2 separate regions of the Homo sapiens genome follow, and region 1 is linked to region 2. The links are contacts of gene promoters, found by promoter capture Hi-C in human tissues and cell types (Jung and others, 2019). All regions are on one chromosome and are shown on one strand. The core of a region is centred on a gene start or on the middle of the fragment in contact, and the rest is flanking DNA. Distances in the headings are between cores, read along the strand shown.

Evidence for each region. Contacts are between HindIII fragments. The study calls those that stand out against the background at their distance.
Region 1: a fragment that was not itself captured here is called in contact with the fragment with the promoter of TTC7B in region 2 in 1 of the 25 tissues and cell types used here (liver).

What each region holds. Positions count from the first base shown.
Region 1 is chr14:91,115,135-91,122,389 of GRCh38, forward strand. All of the region lies in intron 1 of DGLUCY (D-glutamate cyclase), which reads left to right. Among named protein-coding and RNA genes, the nearest start is that of DGLUCY, 4.7 kb to the left of the region's middle. RefSeq lists enhancers at 1,239-1,740, 4,211-5,410. The HindIII fragment of the contact is 3,189 bases long and covers 1-2,845 here.
Region 2 is chr14:90,811,878-90,818,592 of GRCh38, forward strand. It overlaps TTC7B (tetratricopeptide repeat domain 7B), which reads right to left and starts at 4,553. Exons shown (of 20, transcript NM_001010854.2): 1 at 4,298-4,553. The coding sequence starts at 4,418. RefSeq lists a silencer at 4,547-4,726. The HindIII fragment of the contact is 18,929 bases long and covers 1-6,715 here.

The DNA.
Region 1 (7,255 bases), core at 1-2,500, 300 kb after region 2:
GAGGGCAGCAGGTTGAGATTATGTTGGCAGGAAGAATGTTGGCATTGATTGGCACGCAGGGGACGAGAGCTGCTTTGTGCTTTAAAGGTAACTGAGTATGAGCTAAAAAGAAGGAAAGGAGAGGCCGAGAGTAGGAAGAAGAAAGAAAGCTGACTTGGCTGGAGGGGTGGAGTGAAGCTGAGGAAGCAGGAAGGGGAAGGAGGTGATGGGTGGGAAGGGCAGGGCAGGGTGGAGTTAACTGAAAGAAGGCTAAACTGTGGCTTGTACATAATTATGAGGAAGCACCTTTTTTTCCCCCCTTCATTTTGAGACGGAGTCTTGCTGTGTCGCCCAGGCTGGAGTGCAGTGGTGTGATCTCAGCTCACTGCAACCTCCATCTCCTGGGTTCAGGCTATTCTCCTGCCTCAGCCTCCCAAGTAGCAGGGACTACAGGCACATGCCACCAGGTCTGGCTAATTTTTGTAGTTTTAGCAGAGACAGGGTTTTGCCATGTTAGCCAGGCTGAGCTCAAGCCATCCATCCGGCCTGGCCTCCCAAAGTGCTGGGATTATAGGCGTGAGCCACCACACCTAGCCAGGAAGCATCTTAAAAGAGTCAGATGTCACTTCCAGCTGAGGGCTAGATCCCCGGAGGCCAACTGGTGGCCCCTGACATGTTTTATTTGTAAGAGTGAGGACTCTTGGAAATTTGGAAAATTTCACGCGTTGTGAAAGAATGGGCTCACGTTTCCGCAGCTCGGCTGGCGCTGTAGCTGCTGGTTTGCCAAAGTCCCCACCTCTCCTGCACTGAGCTTTGCATTCCTTGACCCACCCCAAAACTTCTGTACCTGCCTGGTTCCTGTGGGCAATGCAGATTGCTGCTCCTTCTGGTTTGATAATAATGATTCTCGTCCAAGTGCACAGGTATATGCTCTTTCAATTAATTTCAATTAATATCTCCCTTTTTCAGTGGAGCATGGCAGATACACAAAACCAACCCTCTCCTTGACAGATTTCTCAGCCTTTCCAGGCGATCTGCCAAGTTGCTAGAGGGTATTTGCATTAAAAAAAAAAGTTTATTTTCTTATTTTGGGTTTAAGGATTTTCCAACCTGCCTTAAGGCAATATTTCATTTATGCCACACTTTACAGCTTTCAAAGCATTTCTTAAACAGACTTGAATTTGTTTTATCCTTCCAGAAGCTCCATGAAGTCTGTAATTTGGATCTCCTCATGCTGTCTTGGAGGAAACAGAATTGTAGAGAAACTAAATGACTGCCCTTGGTCCTTCAGTAATGTTGAGGTTCACATTCAGGCACAGCTCTCTGGAAGACCAAGCTGTGTCTTTTTGACTGTGTGAAATTGTAAAAAGTTATGCTTTGAAAAGCATAGTGACTGAAAGTATGATCTCAATCCAGAATACTTGTGTTACCAGAAAGGGGCCTCAAACCAGACCCCGAGAGTGTTCTTGGACCTTGTGCAAGAAGCAACTGGGGGCAAGTTCATAGCAAAGTGGAAGTGAAAGCAAGTTTATTAAGAAAGTAAAGGAATAGGCCGGGCGTGGTGGCTCATGCCTGAAATCCCAGCACTTTGGGAGGCCAAGGCAGACAGATCACAAGGTTAGGAGATCAAGACCATCCTGGCCAACATAGTGAAACCCCATCTCTATTAAAAATACAAAAATTAGCTGGGTGTGGTGGTATGCACCTGTAATCCCAGCTATTTGGGAGGCTGAGGCAGGAGAATTGCTTGAACCCAGGAGGCAGAGGTTGCAGTGAGCCGAAATCGCCCCACTGCACTCCAGCCTGGCGACAGAGTGAGAGTCTGTCTCAAAAAAAAAAAAAGAACGGCTACTCCATAGGTAGAGCAGTGGCATGGGCTGCTCGACTGAGTATACTTAACGGTTATTTATTGATTATGTGCTAAACAAGGGATGGATTATTCATGAGTGTTCCAGGAAACGGGTGGGCAATTCCTGGAACTGAGGGTTTCTCTCCTCTTTACACAAAATAAGGTAATTTCCAGACATTGTCATGGCATTTGTAAACTGTCATGGTGCTGGTGGGAGTGTCTTTTGCATGCTAATGCATTATGGTTAGTGTATAATAAGCAGTGAGGACGACCAGAGGTCACTTTCATTGCTATCTTGGTTTTGGCTGGTTTCTTTACCACAAAGTGTTTTATCAGCAGGGTCTTTGTGACCTGTATCTTGTGCCTACCTCCTATCTCATCCTGTGACTAGGAATGCCTAAGTTCCTGGGAATGCAGCCCAGTAAGTCTCAGCCTTATTTTACCCAGCCCCTGTTCGAGATGGAGTGGCTCTGGTTTGAAAGCCTCTGACACTTGGGCTTGACTGCTGGTTTGGCCACTCAATACCTATGAGTCTTTAGGCAAAGTACTGAATCATCCTGTGCTTCCTTTTCTGTAAAATAGGGATAACAGCCCTCATCTAGGGAGTGTTGTATGGATTAAATGACATAGTACATGAAAAGTGTTTAGAACAATGCCTGGCACAGAGTAAGCTTTTGTTCACATACACACACACACACATACACACACACACACACACACACACGCCAAACTGTAAAATATTTGAAGAGACTTATTCTGAGGCAAACATGAGGACCCTGGAGGTCCTGAGAACATGTGCCTGACATGGTTGGGATACAGCTTGGTTTTATGCAGTTTAGGAAGACATAGACATCAATCAATACATGTGAAGTACACATTGGTTTGATTGATTCAGTCCAGAATTGAGGTATTCAGGTCATAGGTAGATTCAAAGATTTCCCAATTGGTAATTAGTTAAATGAGTTAAGCTTTGCCTAAAGTTGAAGTTAGCAGGAAGAAATGCTTGGATTCAAGATAAAAGGGGTTGTGGAAGCCAAGGGCCAAGGTTCTTGTTATGTAGATGAAGCTTCCAGGTAGCAGACTTCAGAGAGAATGGATGGTAAATTCTCCCCGCCCCCCCCCCCCCTTTTTTTTTTTAGACGGAGTCTCACTCTGTTGTCCAGGCTAGAGTACAGTGGGATGATCTTGGCTCACTGCACCCTCCACCTCCTGGGTTCAAGCGATTCACCTCCTTCAGCCTCCCAAGTAGCTGGGATTACAGGCACCACCACCCCCACCACGCCTGGCTAATTTTTGTATTTTTAGATTTTTAGTAGAGCCAGGGTTTCACCATGTTGGCCACATTGGTCTTGAACTCCTGACCTCCAAGTGATCCACCTGCCTCGGCCTCCTGAAGTGCTGGGGTTACAGGTGAATCTCTCTTATCAGGCCTTAAAAGGTGCCAGACTCTTCATAACTCTCTTCAAGGTGGGAGGACTTGGAAGGGGAAAGAGCTAGTTAATAGATTTACAGATACAAAAAGCAGTTTCAAAATATGGTGAAGAAACATATTTGGGGGTAAGATATTTTGATTTCCTTCTTTATCTGTCATTTGATAGAGTCAGGTTGGAATTTGGTATCTTATGGCTACAAAGAGTCTCTTTTATCTGTCTTAAGATCTCTGTTTTAATGTTAATGCTGGTCAGTTGTATCTAAACTCCCAAGTGGTGGGGGATAATGAGGCATGTTCAGCCATTCACCTCCCATCATGGCCTGGACTAGTATTTCAGGTTTCTTTGGAATGCCCTTGGCTGAAAGGGGGTCCATTCAATTGGTTGAAGGGCTTAGAATTTTACTTTTGGTTTATACTTTCAAGAAATATTCCTATCAGTGGGGCCAGGCACGGTGGCTCATGCCTGTAATCCCAGCACTTTGTGAGGCCAAGGAAGGAGGATTGCTTGAACTTGGGAGTTCGAAACCAGCCTGGGCAACATAGTGAGACCCTAAAAAGTCTACCTAAAAAGTTAAAAAAAATTTTTTTAAATTATACTACTACTACTAAAATTATTATTATCTGTGCCTTTGGGAGATACTCTGTATTAGTTAGGGTACAGGCTAAATTGTAAAAAAGATCCCAAAATACATTTGCTCAAAAAGGGTAGAAGATTTTTCCTCTTTCACATAATAGCTAAGAGGTAAATGGTCAGTCCAGGACAGGCAAACAACTCTGCTCCACAGGGTCATTCAGGAACCCAGCTTCCTCCATCTTGTTGCTCCCTTTTCTGCATAGTCAAAAGTGACTCAACATCACCTTCACCTTCTGTTCCTGCCTGTAGTGCGAAGAGGGGAGGAATTAGAGGGCAAACAGCTCCCTTCTAAATGATATACCTCAGAGTTGTACATATCCTTTCACTCATATTCCCTGACCCACTCTGTTTCCCTGACCAAATTTCCCAGGCTTTTCTACCTTGATCTGACCTTGTCTTTCTGGACCTTTGGTACCACTGTGCTCCCATACCTGAAGACTCTTTCTCACTGCAGTGCTACTCTTTCTAAGTTCCCACCCTACTTTGCTAGACATTTTTTTTCCATTTCCTTCAAAGAGACCTCCTGTTCCACTCACTCCCTAAATATCCTCTGGGTCTCTGTGTTCCACCCACAGCCCTTCCTGCCTTTTGCCCTCTCCCTCGGTGTGATGGCTTAATGTTGAGTGTCAACTGGATTGGATTGAAGGATGTAAAGTCTTGTTCCTGTGAGGGTGTTGCCAAAAGGAGATTAACATTTGAGTCAGTGAACTGGGAGAGGCAGACCCGCCCTCAGTCTGGGTGGGCACCATATAATCAGCTGCCAGCTCATCTAGGACAAAAGCAGGCAGAGGAACATGGAAGGACTAGACTGGCTGAGTCTTTCAGTCTTCATCTTTCTCCCGTGCTGGATGCTTCCTGCCCTCAAACATCTGACTCCAAGTTCTTCAGCTTTGGACTCTTGGACTTACACCAGTGGTTTGCCAGGGGCTCTCAGGGCTTTGGCCTGAGACTGAAGGCTGCATTGTTGGCTTCCCTACTTTTGAGGTTTTGGGACTTGGATTGGCTTCCCTGCTCCTCGGCTTGCAGACAGCCTATTGTGGGACTTAACCTTGTGATGGTGTGAGTCAATACTCCTTAATAAACTCCTCGTCATGTTAGTCCTGTCCCATCTAGAGAACCCTGACTAATACACTTAGTGTCCTCAGCCACGCAAAAGCTGATGACTCGCAGCTCTCCCTCCTCCGGGCAGGTGTCCTTCCTGACTTCTGGTGCTGAATGTCCACCCTGTCATGGACCTCTGCCTGGGGCTGTCTCACAGGCTCCTCCTACTTAGCATTCTAAAACCAAATTCCTCATCAGTCTCTTCTTGTATTTATTTTCATGAATGGCACAGTTAGCTAGTTGCCCATCCCAGGAAAAAGAAATCTGATAATTATTATTATTATTGTTTTTTGAGATGGAGTTTCACTCTTGTCACCCAGGCTGCAGTGCAATCACGCTATCTCAGCTCACTGCAACCTGCAGCCTCTACCTCCTGGGTCCAAGCCATTCTCCTGCCTCAGCCTCCTGAGTAGCAGGGATTACAGGCACCCACCACCGCGCCTGGCTAATTTTTGTATTTTTAGTAGAGACAGCATTTCACCATGTTGGCCAGGCTGGTCTTGAACTCTGTCCTCAGGTGAGCCACCTGCCTCAGCCTCCCAAAGTGCTGGGATTACAGGCATGAGCCACCCCACCTGGCCCTGATAATTATTTGTGATTCCTTTCTTTCGTTGCACCTTTTGCATACATTCAATCAGGTATCAGGTTCTGGCAAGTCTACCTCTTCCAGTTCCTCAAATCAGCCCTTCCTCTCATTCTCTCACTTTGGGGAAAGCCTGGATTGCTTCTCAAATACTTACGACAGAGGGTCTCTGAGGGATGTTCTTCTTCACATTCATCCTCCACCAAGTGCTGCCTGTTCAGGGGATCCTCCTACCCTTAGTGCTCCTGGGGCTCTTAGATGAAGCTCATACTCCTTCAGGTTATGCACATGCTCCCTCCCAAGCATCTCTTTGTCTATCTTCCCAGCCCCTCTCCCTCTTTACCCCAGGTGTGCCAACCACTCACACTGTCACCTACAGAGACTTCTTCAGCCTTTCTCCTAGTGCTGATTTCCAGCTGTCTGTCAAAGCTCATGCAATGTCTCCCAGGCCATACCTGCCTGACACTGTCAACACAGTTTTCCTTGCCTCTTCCTCATTAGCAGCTCCAGTGCTTAAGCACATTTCCCGACACACAGAAAGTGCTCTGTAAATGGCAAAAGAGTGAACTGTATGGCTCTTTCCATGTCCTACTCCACCTCCAATCATGCTACCTGCTCTGTACCTAAGCTTCTGAGAAGACCCTCCTCTCCTGTGGGGATGTCTGTAACTCTTTCTTCAAGAAATAATATTTTTGGCTGGGCGCAGTGGCTCACGCCTGTAATCTCAGCACGTTGGGAGGCCGAGGTGGGTGGATCACCTGAAATCAGGAGTTCGAGACCAGCCTGGCCAACATGGTGAAACCCTATCTCTACTAAAAATACAAAAATTAGCCAGATGTGGTGGCGATCGCGCCACTGCACTCCAGCCTGGGTGACAGAGTGAGACTCCATCTCAAAAATAATAATAATAATAATAATAATAATAATAATAATAATAATAATTTCAAGAACAAACTCAACTAATGTCTTCAGTGAAGGCTTCTCCTACTTCCCCAGCCAGATTTTCATTATTTATCTATCATCAAGTATTTTTAAAATGCCTATAGTGTGCCAGGCACTGTTCAGTATACTGGGGATAGAGCAGGGGGAAAAAAATGACAAAAACCCCTACCCTTAAGAGGTTCACAGTATAGCATGGGGAATTAGAAGTAAGCATCTGTCTCTTCTCTGGTCTTTAAGCACCTCACAGGCACTGGCCATGTCTGCTCATCTGTTTATTCCCATCATCTAACAGAGTGCTCAACACATTTGCTTGATGAATACGTTTTGAGCACTGGGAGATGATCACAGAAGAGCTAAGAAGTGATAGCAGTTGTATTTAGTGGAGAACAGTATTCACACCTTGTTGTCTAGATTGCCTTGAAATCAGGCTCTGTATGATATCTTTTTTTTTTCTCTTAGAAAAAACTGTTAACCTATTTAGAGTAATTTTATTAAGGAGCTTTTTATTTTTTTATTTTTTTTTTTGAGACAGGGTCCCACCCTGTTCCCCAGGCTGGAGTGCAGTGGTTCAACAACCACAGCTCACTTCAGCCTTGACCTCCCGGGCTCCCACCTCAGTCTCCTGAGTAGCTGGGAACACAGGTACGTGCCACCCTGCCCAGCTAATTTTTTATTTTTTGTAGAGATGGGGTTCCACTGTGTTGCACAGGCTGGTCTCAAACTTCTGGGCTCAGT
Region 2 (6,715 bases), core at 3,303-5,802:
CAGCCGTCCGTCAGGACAGTCGCAGACCTCCAATGTGCCTGTTTGTCATTGCAATAGGTGGGAGTCTTGACCGGGCACTAGCTCAACTGTGTCATTTCTTGGTCCCCCACTCTCTTTTTTCCCTGCCAGGCTGACAGCTGGGACCTGGCCTACCTTGCCCAGGGTCACAAGGGGTCAGCTGCAGGGAACCAACCCCATTATGACCATGTGCCCTGGCTGACAGGTACCATCCCACTGAATCCTCACACGTGCCCTGAGAGTGGGCATTCTGAGCTGGCTGAGCAGGGAGGAAAGGCAGGCTCCGAGAGGCTAAGAACCTGGCTGGAGATCACCTAGCCACTACAGGTAAGGTCCAAATTTTAGACCCGGTGCCAGGTCACTGCACTTTCACACACAGTGGTGACCTCATCATTGGGAGGCTGGAGGGTGACATTCTGTAGAGAGAGGACAGCTGGGCCTGTCCTCCCAGAGACCAGGACCGACCTGTGAGCCCACATGAAGCTGATGTGCAGCTCTGTCTTTATCCCTGAGCGCTCAGGCTGCTGCCTCAGCTCCAAGCCAGGGCACCTCAGGCTTCTCTGAGTCCCCCAAACCCCTGGACACCTTGCTGAGATGTGGATTCTAACCCTGCACGTCTGAAGCCGGCCCAAGAATCCGCATTTCTCACAGGTTCCCGGTGGTGCCCCTGCCACTCATCCCCAGGCCACACTTCAGCCCACGAGGGCCTAGGCTTCCGGGGGACTGTCTCCCACCCCCACCCTTAACTTAGGTGACCATTCTCTCAGTGGGACTCACCCGGGTCTGGTGCACAGCTAGGTTCCACCACATTTGGGTTTTTTGAGATGGTGCAATGAAAATGGTGACTACGGTAGGGTACGAGGAAGAAGACAGACCTCTGGGTTCACTTTTCAACTTGGCATTTGTCCTTTTCTTCCTTATCCACCTCTTGGCAAAACATCTAAACCAATTCATCTCAAAGGAGCCAGGCTGGGGCAGTACACTCTGAAAGTGTCCACTATTTAGAGTCCTTAACGGGGAGGGGCTGCCACGCTTCCTTCCCGTAAGGAGCTAATGCTGCTGGGTGGGGAAGCCCACTACAAGTGGGAGCTTTGGGAAGGAGGGATTCCTCTGCTCAGAACTCTCCCATAGCCCTGTCTCACTCACAGGAAAGCCAAAGCCTTACCCTCGGCCTATCAGGCCCCGCCACTTTCTACCCATGAAGTTCCCTCCCTAGAACATGCTTCTCCACCTCCTTAGGTCTCATCTCAGATGTTGCCTTCTTGGGGACACCTTTCAGGGCCACCCTATTTAAACTAGTAGTTCCTGCAACCCCCACTCCCAGCCCACTCCAAAGCACCTATTCACCTTCCCCTTTTTCTCTTTGATAGCACTGACCACCATCTGACACCCTGTAAACTTTACCTAATGATTATATTGATTATCTGTCTCCCTGCCCCTTTCCTACTGGGATGTGAGTTTCATAAGGGCTGAGATTTTTGCCATTTTTGTCTGTTTTGTTTACCAGTGTATTTCCAGTGCCTAAAACAGTGGCTAGCACAGAGCAGGTACTCAATCTTTGTGGAAGGAAGGAAGGAATGAGTGGCTGGCCCTGAGAGACATTAGCTACTTTAACCCTCATAACAACCCCTGCAAGGTAAGTCATTTAAATCCCGTTCTAAAATGAGAAAACTGAGGCTCAGAGTGGTTAAGTGATTTGGCCAATGTCACAAAGTCAAGAAGTGGCCAAGGTCACAAGAATCAGTCCCCCATCTGGCTGGCTCCAAACACTGTATTCTTTTTTTTTTTTTTTCGCCTGTGGTTGTTTTCATGGTAACTGTCTTAGTGTGACAAACGTGACATTCACTTGCTTTCCTTATTCTAAGCAGAAGATGCTTTAACTTCAGGATTTTGCAAAATCTGCCCAGAACTTGTGCTCATGCACCCGAGAATCTATGGGGGAGCCGGTGCCCCCAAAAGCCAGGAAGAAGTCCCTCTACCAGCCCGAGAGTGGGAAGGCCTCACCAGTCAAACGGAGGGAAGGCCCCTCTTGCAAACACCAAAGGAGAGCCACAATCATTCTAGTTTAGTTTCATCTTTTTCTTGGCTTCATCGTTTTATTTTCCTGAGCACTCACTCTGTCTGATCTTTTCAAGTCCGGGTAACTTTTTGCCATCAATGGCTACCACTCACCATGTGAGTCTCTAGGACAAAAATCTATGTCCCATGAGTTTCCCCAAACTGAACTTGCACACAGACCCATGGACCACAGTGCCCCCGCAAACCCCGATCCCCAAGCCCCACTCATGACTGCATCTTAGGACATTGGGAGCAGCCCCTGGGAAGAGAGCTAAGCCTTTCGGGGGCCATGAAGGTGAATAGGAAGGGCCCAGGCCACCAAAAACCCATCTACCCTCTCATTCCAGGGACCATCATAGCTTGAGTCCCCCTTCATCTGCCTGTCATTCTCAATCACATTAACTCATCTGTTTTGTTTCAATCACTTCTCACTATCTGAAGCTGTGCTGTTTATTTATTTCCATATTTGCTTATCACCTGCCTCCTGAGAGCAGGGTGAGGGCATAAGGGCAGGGGCTTGGTCAGTGCTGTTCACCACTGTTCTGTGACTGGCACAGGTGGGCACGCAAATATTGGGTGAATGAATAAGCAAAGACAGCAGGAAACAAGTGGATTCAGAAGAAAAAAGACCAGGAGGCTCACAAATAAACCCATTTAATCCTAAAATCAACCTGCACAGAAGGTGTCATTATGCCTACACCGCTGGGAAGCCACAAAGTAGACCCAGGACTGTGCAACTCCGAGAGGAAAAGAGAAAATGCTGCAGGTAAGCGGAGAAGCAGGTGAGCCCGACACGGAGGGCAAAGGCAAGCTGCCTCTGGGGCCCAGGGCACTGAACACCATCTCCTCAAAGGCTGACATAACTGAGAAGGGTCCACATTTTCCACCAAGTGGAGCCCGTGTAGGGTCGGTGCTATCTCCATGCCCCTGACACACCATGGCACCTGCGTTCACCCAGAAGGTACCTGCCCACAGCATGCATCCATCATTGAGAGTGCGCAAAACCAAGTTCTAATTTCCAGGCACTAATACCATAGGACACAAACATAAACCACCCTCCAGGAGGACACCTGACATCCCTCTCCTTTCTGGGTAGTCTGAAGTGAGAAGGTTGAAAATAGTGCAGATGTCCTTTCTTAGAGCAGCCCCGCCATCCATTCATTCACTCTTTCATTCATTTGTTCAGCCAACATGTGCTCACTGGGCCTGGGGAAGCCCAGGATGAAATGAGACAAACCCTCTGCCCTCTGGCCACGGTGTGCTGGTGCCTGCGCTTTAGGCGGGTACTAAAAGACAAGCAAATATTAAAGATACTCGCTTCCAAAACAAATAAGGCCACGTGGAGCTGTGCACTGGAATGGGATTCTGGATGCAATTTTATTTGATTGGGTACAAGAACCAATCCAGTTAAAGGGGTCATGAACCAACTCCAGGCACCAGGCTCCTACTCAGAGGCTGCCTCAGACCCCCTTCTGGCCCAGGCACCAACCCCTCACCCACCCAACTCCATCTCCCGACATTCTTCAACCACATTCCCATCTCGCTCCACAATATTCTCCCTCCAGGTCCCCCTGACTCTATTTCTCCTCTATTCCCAACCCTGACCTCTCTAGGTCGGCAGCCTTGATGCTACTTCTCCGAACGCCAGGACGCACATCCCAGCCTGCTTTCTACCACCACCCCACACACCTCGAGTCTGCGCTTCCACCCAGAACCCCTTAAACACCATATGTTTACAAACCAGATTCCCCAGGGGTCTATGTACAACACCCCATTCTCAAGACCCCATAAACACATCCTGATTCCCTGAGCACACCATACACACACTGTGGACTTCACCCATGTCCTGAGGGACCCCCTCACCCCATCACCTCCAACTTCTTGGAAGCCCCAGGCCGGCCCCTGACCTCCTGTGGTCCCAGTGGAGCAGCGGACTCGCTGAGACCCCCGGACACCCCAGACTCCGCAGAAGCCCGCCCTGCACGCTTGAACCCCAGGCGCCGGGACAGCCCCTGGCGCCCCCCCGGGCCCCCACACCGCGTGACTCCGGGGCACCCGGGCTCCCCCAGGCCCCGGTCCCGCGCACATCCCCTGGGCCGCAGCTCCCTCGCGGCCCGGCCGCGCCCCTGCCCGCGCCCCGCGCCCGGCCGCGCCTCGGGGGCCCGTTCCCGCGGAGGCCGCGGCGCCCCCCGCAGCCCAGGCCGGCGCGCCCGGAGCGTACCGTTGGCGATGAGCTTGGCCGACAGCTGCTTGACGAGCTCAGGGATCCGCTCCCACTGGCACTCGGAGCGGCAGCGCTCGATCTCCGTCTCCAGCCGCGAGCCTGCCTTCTTGGTCGCCATCGCGGCCTGGCCGGGCCCGGCCGCCCGCCCCGCAGGCCCCACCGCCGCCGCCGCGGCGCCCCCTCGCCGCCTCCCGCCGCCGCCGCGGGCTCGGGCTCCGGCTCCCGGCTCCGCGGCGTAACGGGAGCGCCGGCTGGGGAAGGGGCGGGGAGGCGGGCGGCGGCGGCGGGCGCGGCGGGGCCCCGGGCGCCGCGAGGAGCGGCCCCTGCCGGCCAGGGCCGGAGCCGCAGCACTGACCGGGGCCGGAGCCAGGGCTGGGGCAGGGGCGGGGGCTAGGGCGGGAGACAGGGGCCCGAGGGAGGAAAGGCGGGGTGGGCATGGAGGACAGGGAGAGGGACTGGGGGTGTCTGGGGCGGGGTGAAGACCGAGGGGAAGTGGGGATGGGGGTGGGGGAGCGGGGTAGGAGAGAGATCTGACCAAGGGCGGGTGAGGGGTCTGGTGGGGTAGGGGTCTGGGCAGGATGAAGGGGAGGGAGAGGATCGGGAGGGAGCTAGCGACAGCCTGGGAGCGGGTTGGATCCCCAGGAGTAGGGCCAAGAAAGGGCAGTGACCCTGGGGAAGGTCACCGCCCGGTGGGACCAGTGAGCCAGGTGTGAGGGGTGGGGGGAGGCCTGCCCGAGTTTGTCCTGCCATCTCAGGTGGCCAGCGGTTCCCTGGGGCCCGGTTGGCCTGTGCCCCTTAGCAGATGCCCCTCTGCCCCGCAGCCTTAGCCCCTACCCAGCCAGAGGTGGACGGAGACTCCTCCATCCCAGGCAAGGCACAGCACCTGCCAGGGGTGCCCTAGATGGCTGAGCGGAGCCAGGCAGGGGCTGCCACTCTCACACGCCAGCTCTCGGACCCCCTGAGGGGAAGGCACAGTCACTGGTGGGGCCTCCTGTCTTGGCCACCTAGACTGAGACCTAGGGAGGTGTCCCTCTGTGTTCTCTCAGTGAATCAACTGTCTAGTGATCACCTACTATGTGCTGGGCGCTGCTTTAGGTGCCAGAGATAGAATTGTGAGCTAAAAAAACAAAATTCCTGGCTTGAGAGAGCTTACATTCCAGTTTGGGGGAAAAATAAGCAAAATAAAATAGTAAACTAGACTGTAAAAATGGCTATTTGAAGAAACAGGGAAGGGTTCAGTGAGGAACATAAAGAGTTGGGACAGGCGGGTGGCTCATGCCTGTAATCCCAGCTACTCAGGAGGCTGAGGCAGGATGATTGCTTGAGCCCAGAAGGTGGAGGCTGCAGTGAGCAGTGAACGCACTTCAGCCTGAGCAAGTGTTGCCATTTAAAATGGAGCAGTCAGGGATGGCCTCACGGAGGTGGCATTAGACTTGAAGAAACTAAGGGGGAGCCATGAGGATATCTCTGGGGGAGGAGTATCCCAGGCAGAGAACACCACAAGTGCGAAGGCTCTGGGGTTAGAGCACACTGGGTGGGATGGAGAAATGGCAGAGGCCAGAGGGGCTGGGTGGAGCGAAGGAGAGGGGCCGAGGCAGGAGATGAACTCTGAGAGGTTGGGGGGAGTTCTGTGTAGTGCCTGGTGGGCCATTATAAGACCTTGGCTTTTGGCTGGGCACGGTGGCTCACGCCTGTAATCCCAGCACTTTGGGAGGCCGAGGTGGGCGGATCACGAGGTCAGAAGATCGAGACCGTCCTAGCTAACATGGTGAAACCCGTCTCTACTAAAAATATTTTTAAAAATTAGCCGGGCGTGGTGGCAGGCGCCTGTAGTCCCAGCTGCTGGGGAGGCTGAGGCAGGAGAATGGTGTGAACCCGGGAGGCGGAGTTTGCAGTGAGCTGAGATGGCAGCACTGCACTCCAGCCTGGGCAACAGAGAGAGACTCCGTCTCAAAAAAAAAAAAAAAAACTTTGACTTTTACTCTGGTGACATGGAGCAGCCCTGCAGGGCTTTTCACGGAAGAGTGGCATGATCAGACCTACACTTTGGACTATCACTGTGACTGCAGTGTTGAGAATACTGCCAGGGAAATAGCTGTGGTGGTGGCAGTGTTGGATTCTGGGTCCTGCATTTGAGAGTGAAGCGGTCAGTCTGGAAGGTTCCGTAGCCCGCCCGCAGTCACAAGGAGGCACTGAGGGGTCGTCGTCATTCCTTCTGGGTGCCCTTACTCCAACTTTCCAAGAGCAGTCACACGCAGGTTCTTATCCCCACCACAACTCCCCCACCACCGGAGTTGATGAAGAACACACACTGTGGACCTCAGTTTACCAATGAGGAGGCTGAATCACAGACATTTAAGAGAGGTGAGGAGGAAAGATAAGGAGATGTGTTCTGATGTGACCAGTATCACTTTC